Regions from separate parts of the Homo sapiens genome. Here region 2 is linked to region 1. The links are contacts of gene promoters, found by promoter capture Hi-C in human tissues and cell types (Jung and others, 2019). All regions are on one chromosome and are shown on one strand. Each heading gives the region's core, a stretch centred on a gene start or on the middle of the fragment in contact. The rest is flanking DNA. Distances are from core to core; before and after follow the strand shown. Region 1 holds the start of PDCD2L (programmed cell death 2 like). Region 2 overlaps LSM14A (LSM14A mRNA processing body assembly factor).

Region 1 (5,561 bases), core at 2,504-5,003:
CGGACTGTTTGAGTCCAGGAGTTCAAGAACAGCCTGGGCAACATGACAAAATCCCATCTATACAAAAAATATGAAAATCAGCTGGGCATGGTGGCACGTGCCTGTAATCCCATCTACTCAGGAGGCTGACGTGGGAGAATGGCTTGGGCCCAAGAGGCAGAGATCATGCCACTGCACTCCAGCCTGGGTGACCAGAATGCAACCCCATCTCAAAAAACAAACAAACAAACAAACAAACTCAGTGTATATATAAAGACACATTTACAGTCAAAGGGAGGCTAAATTGTGTTCTGCAGCTACCAACTTGCCTGCCTTTTCAATAAATTCAGATTTCATCTTATGAAATGTGTTAATACATATATAGCTCTCATAAAGTATATTTACTATAAAGACACGTATACATTATCACATACAACCACATATATGTACACACCCATATATATTCCCAAACAGGAAAATCAGTAAACTGTGTGTCTCAAGACCTTCAGTGTAAGTTTAAAAAAACTACTATATATACAATGGAATATTTTTCACCCTTAAAAAAAAAAAGGAAATTCTGTCATTTGTGACAACATGGATGGAACTGGAGAACATTTTGCTAAGGGAAATAAGCCAGACACAAAGACAAATGCTGCATGTATTCACTTATATGTGGAATCTAAAACAACCTCAAAGAAGTAGAGAGTAGAGTGGTGGTTAAAGAAATCTGGAGTGGCCAGGTGTGGTGGCTCACGCCTGTAATCCCAGCACCTCAGGAAGCCAAGGCGGGTGGATCACGAGGTAAAGAGATCGACACCATCCTGGCTACACGGTGAAACCCCATCTCTACTAAAAATACAAAAATTAGCTGGGCATGGTGGTGTGTGCCTGTAGTCCCAGGTACTCAGGAGGCTGAGGCAGGAGAATTGCTCGAACCTGGGAGGCGGAGGCTGCAGTGAGCCAAGATTGTGCTACTGCACTCCGGCCTGGCAACAAAGCGAAACTCCATCTCAAAGAAAAAAAAAAATCTGGAGTGAGCCGGGCATGGTGGCTCACGCCTGTAATCCCAGCACTTTGGGAGGCCGAGGCGGGTGGGTTGCCTGAGGTCAGGAGTTCAAGACCAGCCTGGCCAACATGGTGAAACCCTTTCTCTACTAAAAATATAAAAATTAGCTGGGCGTGGTGGCGAGTGCCTGTAATCCCAGCTACTAGGGAGGCTGAGGCAGGCAGGATAAGCGCTTGCATCCGGGAGGTGGAGGTTGCAGTGAGCTGAGATTGTGCCATTGCACTCCAGCATGGGCAACAAGAGCGAAACTCGGTCTCAAAAAAAAAAAAAAAAAAAAAAAGGAAGAAAGAAACCTGGAGCGGGAAGAATAAGGAGATGACGGTCAAAGAATACAAAACCTCAGTTATTCAGGAGGAATGTGGGTTTTTTTTAAGTTCTACTGCACAGCATGAATATAGTTAATAATAGAGTATTGTGGCTGGGCACAGGGGCTCAAGCCTGTAATCCCAGCACTTTGGGAGGCCGAGGTGGGTGGATGACAAGGTCACGAGATCAATACCATCCTGGCTAACATGGTGAAACCCTGTCTCTACTAAAAATTTAAAAAAATGAAAAAATTAGCTGGCCGTGGTGGCGGGCGCCTGTGGTCCCAGCTACTCTGGAGGCTGAGGCAGAATGGTGTGAACCCAGGAGGTGGAGCTTGCAGTGAGCAGAGACGGCGCCACTGCACTCCAGCCTGGGCAACAGAGCAAGACTCCGTCTCAAAAAAAAAAAAAAATAAGAGTATTGTGTATCTCCAAATTGCTAGAGGAAATTTCAAATGTTCTCACAAGATGTTAAGTATTTGAGGTGATGAATGCATTAACTAGCTTCATTTAATTATTCCACATGATATTCATGAATCATAGCCATCACTTTATACCTCATAAATTTATACATTATTATAAACTGTCAATTTACAGTTAAAAAAAAAAGTTGAAGAAATCCAGGAGGAAGTCTCCATCTCCCTTTTGTTTTTTTGGCAGGGGACAGGGTCTGGCTTTGTGGCCCAGGCCGGAGTGCAGTGGCACAAGTGTAGGTCACTGCAGCCTCAACCTCCTAGACTCAAGCAATCCTCCTACCTCAGCCTCCTGAGTAGCTGGCACTACAGTTGCGTGGCCATCATGCCTGGCTAATTTGTTTACTTTTTATAGAGACGATGTTTTGCTATGTTGCCCAGACTGCTCTCCCAACGTTTTTTTTTTCTTTTGTTTTGTTTTGTTTTGTTTTTACGGAGTCTGTCACCCACGCTGGAGTGCAGTGGCATGATCTCAGCTCACTGCAATCTCTGTCTCCCGGGTTCAAGCGATTCTCCTGCCTCAACCTCCCTTGTAGCTGGGATTACAGGTGTCTGCCACCATGCCCGGCTAATTTTTTGTTTTTGTTTTTAATAGAGACGGGGTTTCGCCATGTTGGCCAGGCTGGTCTCGAACTTCTGACCTCAGGAGATCCGCCCGCCTCGGCCTCCCAAAGTGCTGGGATTACAGGCGTAAGCCACCGCGCCCAGCCTGGTCTCCAACTTCTGAGCTCAAGCAATCCTCCCACTTCAGCCTCTCAAAAAACGGTGGGATCACAGGCGTGAGCCACCATGCTGGGCCTCCATCTCCTTTTAACAAAGGAGTTAGAAAATAAAAATAAAGTAAAATAGAAGAAAAAAAAAACTCTCACAAAACCTTAAGAAAGGCCGGGCGCGGTGGCTCATGCCTGTAATCCCAGCACTTTGGGAGGCCGAGGCGGGTGGATCACCTGAGGTCGGCAGTTCGAGACCAGCCTGACCACCATGGCGAAACCCCGTCTCTATTAAAAATACAAAATTAGCCGGGCGTGGTGGCATATGCCTGTAATCCCAGCTACTAGGGAGGCTGAGGCAGGAGAATCGCTTGAACCTGGGAGGCGGAGGTTGCGGTGAGCCGAGATCGCGCCATTGCACTCCAGCCTGGGCGACAGAGCGAAACTCCGTCTCAAAAAAAAAAAAAAAAAAAAACTTTACGAAAATAGCATTTTATGGTTCTTCAGAAAAGCAAAAAACACTCCAGTGTACTTCAAAGAACACGGCTTTAAAGTCTGCCCCAAACTATTCTCTGGAAAATATCCTCAAATGACAGAAAAACAATAACATGCCAATCACAACCTTTACCTGAGCGTCCTGCGCCTCTCTCTCTGGCACCTGCAGGCACTGGGAGCGGAACACCTTCCAGCTTCGGGGTGAAGACAAAGGGCCGTGAGGGCTGCACCCCGACTCCAGCCCGCCGGCCCGCCCCAGCCCGCTGGAAAGGACACCCCTGGAGCAGCTCTGGGACTTCCCCGCCTACCTGCGCGCACCGCCGGTGCTACAGCCGGGGCAGGCGCACGCGAACACGTGCAGCAGACGGTGAAACGGGGAGCCTTCCAGCGGGCAATACACCTGCACGACCAGAGCGAGCGGCTGCCCGCAGCGCTGACACACGGGCCTGGGCGCAGCCACGGTGGGCAGAGCATCCTGAGGGGACAGAGGAGGCGCTCAGACCCCGACTCCCCCCAGGACCTCGCCCACTCCCTCCGCACCCTTCAGCAGCACCCATCGACCCCAGCTCCGGCACCCGCCCTCACCGGAATGCCGCCCAGCTTGCTAGCAGTCCAGGCACCCGGCCCTGTGGGGCTGCCGTGCACCGGCGCATCTCGAAGGCCCAGCAGCACCGGCTTCAGAACGGCCGCCATGGCCGCCGGGCGACCAGGTGAAAACGCAAACTACGGCGGCCTCTCTGCGCACGCGCAACGCTACGCTAAAATGATAACCCCGCTCCCTTACTAGGATCCGATGCGGAGGCGTGGCTTTAAGGCGCGTGCGCTCAGGTCCCAGAGCCACAGAGGCGCCGCTGGCGTCAGGGGCTCGAAATCCCGGAGTCCCAGGCATTATGTGCCCCTTAATGCGCTGTGATAGGAAGTACACACCATCTACTAGGAAGTAGTTTTGCCAAAAAGCTAACTTTCTTTTTTCCTTTTTTTCCTGAGACGAGGACTTGCTATATTGCCCACACTGGTCTTGAACTCCTGGGGTTCAAGCGATCCTCCCGCCTCCGCCTCCCAAAGTGTTGCGATTACAGGTGTGAGCCACCAGAAAAAAGCCTTCCCGGAAAATAAAAATTTTAGGTGGGATAATGGTATTATCAGTCATTAACAAGAACAATAAAGTTTTTTAAAAAGTTAAAGTTTTTAATTTTTAGAGAAACACACCAAAATGCTTATAGATGAAATACCTCCGATTTGCTACTACATAATTAAGGTGGTGGGGTGTAAATACAGTAAGATTGACCATGAGTTGATAATTGTTGAAATTTGGTGCCAGGCACATGGAGATTTATTCTATTTGGGTTTTATATGTTTGAGATTTTTCAGTTTTTATTTTTGTTTTGTTTTGTTTTGTTTTTGAGACAGAGTCTTGCTGGGTCGCCCAGGCTGAAGTGCAGTGGCGCCATCTCACTGCATCTCAGCCTCCCAGGTTCAAGTGATTCTCCTGCCTCAGCCCCACCCAGTAGCTGGGGTTACAGACGCCCACCACCACGCCCGGCGCCCGGCTTTTTTTTTTTTTTTTTTTTTAGACGGAGTTTCGCTCTTGTCGCCCAGGCTGGAGTGCACTGGCGTGATCCCAGCTCACTGCAACCTCTGCCTCCCAGGTTCAAGCGATTCTTCTGCCTTAGCCTCCCGAGTAGCTGAGATTACAGGCATGTGCCACCATGCCTGGCTAATTTTGTATTTTTAATAGAGATGGGGTTTCTCCATGTTGGTCAGGCTGGTCTCGAACTCCCAACCTCAGGTGATCCGCCCACCTTGGCCTCCCAAAGTGCTGGGATTACAGGCGTGAGCCACCATGCCCGGCCTTTTTTGTATTTTTAGTAGAGACGGGGTTTCACCATGTTGGCCAGGCTGGTTTCGAGCTCCTGAAATCAAGTGATCTGCCCACCTCGGCCTCCCAAAGTGTTAGTATTACAGGTGTGAGCCACCGCGCCCAGCCACACAATACAGTTTTTTCAATTCCTGCAGCACAACATGGGTGAATTTCAAAAGCATCATGGGAAGAAGCCAGACACAAAAGGCGCCATTCTGGTAAACGCAGAACTTCGGAGGGAAAAAAATCAGTTCAATGGTAGTCAGGAGTTGGGATGAGGGAGTAGGACTGGACCACAAGTGTCAGGAACTTTTGAGGGTGAGGAAAATGCTGTATATCTCATCTGTAATGGTTCTAAGACTGTATATACACTTGTGAAAACTCATAACTGTATACCAAAGAAAGGTGAATCTTACTATATGTAAATCACACCCCAATAAACCTGACTTTTTAAAAATGCAGGCTGCAAAAACATTATTTTAGGATTCATAACGTGGTATGCAAAAGAAATGAATGTTTTCAAGGATTTACACCTCAAAGGAGGAAGCACCAGCCTTTGTGAGGTTTGGCTCTAGCCCAGCAAGGATCTGGAGATGAAACCCATTTACTCCTTTTTTTACCACACTTCATCCTGATAGCTTTAAAAGGCCCTGTGATGCTGGGCACAGTGGC
Region 2 (4,996 bases), core at 577-3,076, 210 kb after region 1:
AGAAGTTTATGATGATTGGAAGAAGTTATTCAACACCATTTTCATATGCGCTCTCTTAGTTTTTCTCCTTCCATAAAACCGATTACTCAAATAACTGGTTTCCTGGAGAATTATCAAAAGCCATATAAAAGAGACAGTAAGGTAACTCCAGTGTTTGGTGTAGGGAGCTATCTCTATTAAGAATGTGTCTCTTCCTTCTCCATTTAAAGAGATTCACATTTCCACTTCAGGCTTCCTTTCACCAAAATAAGACTTAACAAGGGTAGGGGTAGATGAGAGTAGAGAATTTCTCCAGCTTATGCTGCAACAAAATTTACAATTCCTTATTAAAAAGCTTAAATTGGGAGATTTAAGAGCTGATCTAAATATGTTAAAATACATTGATGTTTGTGTTTTCTTATTATATAACATTGCAGGCCAGGCACAGTGGCTCATGCCTGTAATCCCAGCACTTTGGGAGGCTGAGGTGGGCGGATCACCTGAGGTCAGTAGTTTGAGACCAGGCTGGCCAACATGGTGAAACCTCATCTCTACTAAAAATACAAGAATTAGCCGGGTGTGGTGGTGCATGCCTGTAATCCCAGCTACTCAGGAGGCTGAGGCAGAAGAATCACTTGAACCTGGGAGGCGGAGGTTGTAGTGAGCCGAGTTCACGCCACTGTACTCCAACGACTCTGTCAAAAAAAAAAAAAAAGAAAAAGAAAAACAAAACAAAAACCAACACTGCATATTATAACATATGCAGAACAATGTGATTTTGCTTTTTTTTCCCCATTAAGCCTAATAATCTTACCTAAGAGTAGCTGTTATTGCCTTGGTTTGCAATATAAACCATATCTCAATAGCATGGTAGCACGGATCCTAGATTCTGAAGCAGGCTGCCTGGATCTGTTCAAATTGTGGCTCCATCTGAACTTCCTCACTTGTTAAAAGTGAGAATAATTATAGTACCAACCTCAGAGGGTATCTTATATGCACAGCACTTCTACAGAGTAGCCTTCAATGTTAGCTATGGTAATTGTTGTTGAAATTAGAAAATATTTCATAATAAATTCCTCAGCTGTTTCTTACCTTAGTTCTAATTTATGATACAAAGAGAAAAACCTAGATGAGAACATTATCCAGTAATTTCAGGTATCCCAGTAACTTGGAAATGATAAGCTACATGAACATTCAACTAGAGAGAAAAAAGCCAAGGCTAACCCTGTGCGGAGTTTACCTGTACTCCAAGACAAATTTACCATCAGTTACCTGAACAATAGCTGGGTCTTGAGGCAAAGAACACTGTGGTTTTGGTGGCTCACAAACAGTAAGGTCTTTAATGTCACTCCCACGGAATATAATGTATTCAAAGACTTCATCTCGAGGTGGTATTGGACGATCTGTCGGTCTGTCTTCTGTACCAAAGGATCGAACTGGCAAGAAAACAAAGGATATGAGATGTGTGACTACTCATCACATTCAGGTAGTACCCCAGATTCTAAATGTTGTATTTCAAGTACTAAGCAGTAGTTCTGAAATGTCTGAGAAAGTATTCATTAATCTATAGCTAAAAAAGTTTTTTTAAAGAGGAAAATAGAGTGGCTTTTGCCCGAAGTTAAATATATGCAATATAAAAGACTATCTGTATTATGAGGTTGTGTTCCTCTTATATTTTTATTTATTTGTATCTTTAGTGGTTGTAGTGGGGTGTTAAAATGTCCTTTCATTATTTATTTATTGATGAGACTGGGTCTCTGTCCCCTAGGCTGGAGTGCAGTGGTGTGGTCATGGCTTCCTGCAGCCTCAGCTTCCCGGGCTCAGGCGATCCTTCTATCTCAACCTCCCACGTAGCTGGGACCACAGGCATGTGCCACTAAGCCCAGCTAACTTTTTTTATTTTTTAGTAGAGATGAGGTCTTGCTATTTTGCACAGGCTGGTCTTGAACTCCTGGCCTCAAGTGATCTTCCTGCTTTAGCCTCTCAATGTGCTGGGATGAAAGGCCTAAGCCACTGTGCCTGGCTCACGGTTAACTTATTTTTAATGTCCTCATTCGACAAAATAAAAATTAGCAACCCATGTCTTTCTTGGGGAAGGAGTGGGAGACAAAGATTCCTCCAGTCTACAAAATCTCAAAGTTTGGGTATTGACCTTTGGGACACAGAGAGCAATGAAGGTATTAATAACATTTACCTTGCTGAGCAGTAAGTCCTCTAGAAGCCAAGTCAAGCAGCTGCCAGCTACTCAGCCCCATGGGACAGCTTGAAATACCCTAGTTACCTAAAATATCTACCATATAATTAAATCTGATTATTTTAACAATGAAGACAGCATTACTCAAAGTTAAACTGGGGACCACCTGCAACACAGTAAACTGGCTACGAATAAAGATTTCTACCGAATCTTTTTGCTGGGGACAGGGTCCAAAAATCTGCATTTTAAGCCAATTTCTGGCTAGGCACAGTGGCTCATGCCTGTAATCCCAGCACTATGGGAGGCCAAGGTGGGAGGACTGCTTGAGCCCAGGAGTTTGAGACCAGCCCTAGCAACACAGTGATGTTCTGTCTCTACAAAAAAATAAACATTTTTAAAAATTAGCCAGGTGTGGTAGTGCATGCCTGTAGTCCCAGCTATAAGGAGGCTGAGGTATGAGGATCGCTTGAGCCTGGGAGATTGAGGCTGTACTGAAGCGTGGCTGCACTGCAGCCTGGGTGACACAGCAAGACCCTATTTCAAAATAAGTAAATAAAATAACCAAATCCCCAAGTTTCTTATAAATACATAAGTTTCAGGTTCATTGTCCTGGGAGATTTCTGAAAATGTCTGCATCCATACAGAAGTTCCAAATAGAGAATATGAAACATCATATTTCATTTAAAGAGTACCCTAAAGGAAGTAAACCCCTTAACATTTCTATTTTTTTTCTTTTTTTTTGAGATGGAGTTTCATTCTGTTGCCCCAGCTGGAGTGCAGTGACGCAATCTTGGCTCACTGTAACCTCTGCCTCTTGGGTTCAAGCGACTCTCCTGCCTCAGCCTCCTGAGCAGCTGGGATTACAGGCGTGTGCCACCATGCGCAGCTAATTTTTGTATTTTTTTTTAGCGGAGATGGGGTTTCACTATGTTGGCCAGACTGGTCTAGAACTCCTGACCTCAAGTGATCCATCCGCTTCGGCTTCCCAAAGTGCTGGCATCACAGGCGTGAGCTACCGCGCCTGGCCCCCTTAGTATTTTTAATGCATACGCTTTTTTTTTTTTTTTTTTTTTTTTTTTTTTTTTTTGCAGAACTGATGCAGCGCCTCATGCCTGCAATCCCAGCACTTTGGGAGGCCAAGGTGGGCAGATCACTTGAGGTCAGGAGTTTGACACCGGCCTCAACAAAATGGTGAAACCCCATCTCTACTAAAAATACAAAAAATCATTAGCTGGGCATGTTGGCATGCACCTGTAGTCCTAGCTGCTCAGGTGGCTGAGGCGGGAGGATTGGCTGAACTCAAGAGGCAGAAGTTGCAGTGAGCCAAGATGGCGCTCCTGCACTCCAGCCTGGGTGACAGAATGACAATCTGACTCCAAAAAAAAAAAAAAAAAAAAAAACAACAAAAAGAATGTTATTTCAGTGTAAATAATGTCCTACACTCTTATTCTAAAAGTTCTTTCTAGTACTTATGAGACTTCCAGGAAAGACAGTGGCACAGGTAGTTTGGCAGAAGATCCTTCCCTAAAACTAAAGGAAAGAAACAAAAAGGAAGTTAAAATATCCCTAAAATCATGACAAGTTCTCAAACTCATACCACGAAATTTTATTAAATAGTATCATTCAGGTACAGAATGAGTTAGTTGAAACTGAAAGACCAACCCCAGAATCCATACGTAAGTATCCTCTGCCCTCTCCTGCCCCCCAGAGAAATTTTGACTAGCATCTTCAACTTGCTAAGATGGGGACAGGGACTGCGGAATGCCCTACCTGAAGCTCCCTTTCTCTGATGGCCAAACAGTACTTTAGCAGGCAGGAGGATTTTATATTTTTACCTTTATCCAAAAGGAAGGATAAGGAGGAGAAAGGACTAATTACAAATAAATCAATCTCACCCCTAACCTCAGTACCATCAAAACAAATAAAGTCTCATGCTTCCAAAGTAGCAGATGAGATCATCCTGAAGCAGAGAGGGAAAAAGTCAAAGGCCCTTCTTCTACAAAATTAGAGAAGCTCTATTAAGCTTCCTAAGGCCTAACAGAGCTTAGCCAGGTGAATTCAGAGTCAAGTAAAAAGAGAATCTGCATTTCACGTTTTGGCAAGCAGCAGGTACTGAAAGGACCTACTAAAGAAAAAAAGAGTAGAAAAATCAGGGAATCAAGAAAAATTTTACAGGAAAGATGGAAAGAAGGGAAGAAAAGAGGGAAAGGAGGGAGGCAATGATGGAAGGAAAGAAAAAGGTGTATCAAAATAAAGAAAAAAGGCAGTAAAGAAGAAGAGAAGAATCAAAGAGGACACGGTCTTCATTTACTTATTTTGTTTTTTTTTCCATTACCAGCAGTTTGCCCTGATAGGACACAGTCTTCAAAAGGTAGATGAAATACATTCAGTATTAGTATTTATCACAGAAAATAGAAGAAATTTTCTGAAACAACTGCTTCGACATTCACAAGAAAAACAGATAGCATAGACTTTTATGATCAAAACAACATTGAAAGGGTAGCATGCAGAATTAAGGAAAGAAAATTACACAAGATAAATAAAACAGCATAACTAATAAATGCAACAACAGTCAATGCAGCAAAACCAAATCACTAGAAGAGAATAATTTTGAGAAAAGGTAAACAAGATGTCATGAAAAAGTACTACAGCATTAAAAAGGTTAGAGAGAAGATGATAGTTATGAAGATCCAACAGTTAACTGCTGCCCCTGAGATAGACAAAAGAATAAGAAAAATATAATTAAAGATATAACAGAATAGAAATGTCTTAACATGAAGGCCTAAATTTCATCAAAAGCTTTCACTGTATTTCCAGAAAAAA

Evidence for each region. Contacts are between HindIII fragments. The study calls those that stand out against the background at their distance.
Region 2: a fragment that was not itself captured here is called in contact with the fragment with the promoter of PDCD2L in region 1 in 1 of the 25 tissues and cell types used here (mesendoderm cells).

The regions. Positions count from the first base shown.
Region 1 is chr19:34,402,591-34,408,151 of GRCh38, reverse strand. PDCD2L (programmed cell death 2 like) reads right to left here and starts at 3,753. Exons shown (of 7, transcript NM_032346.2): 1 at 3,614-3,753; 2 at 3,337-3,503; 3 at 3,162-3,222. The coding sequence starts at 3,721. The HindIII fragment of the contact is 14,760 bases long and covers 1-5,123 here.
Region 2 is chr19:34,190,897-34,195,892 of GRCh38, reverse strand. It overlaps LSM14A (LSM14A mRNA processing body assembly factor), which reads right to left. Exons shown (of 10, transcript NM_015578.4): 2 at 1,252-1,415. Among named protein-coding and RNA genes, the nearest start is that of LSM14A, 21 kb to the right of the region's middle. The HindIII fragment of the contact is 5,517 bases long and covers 1-4,584 here.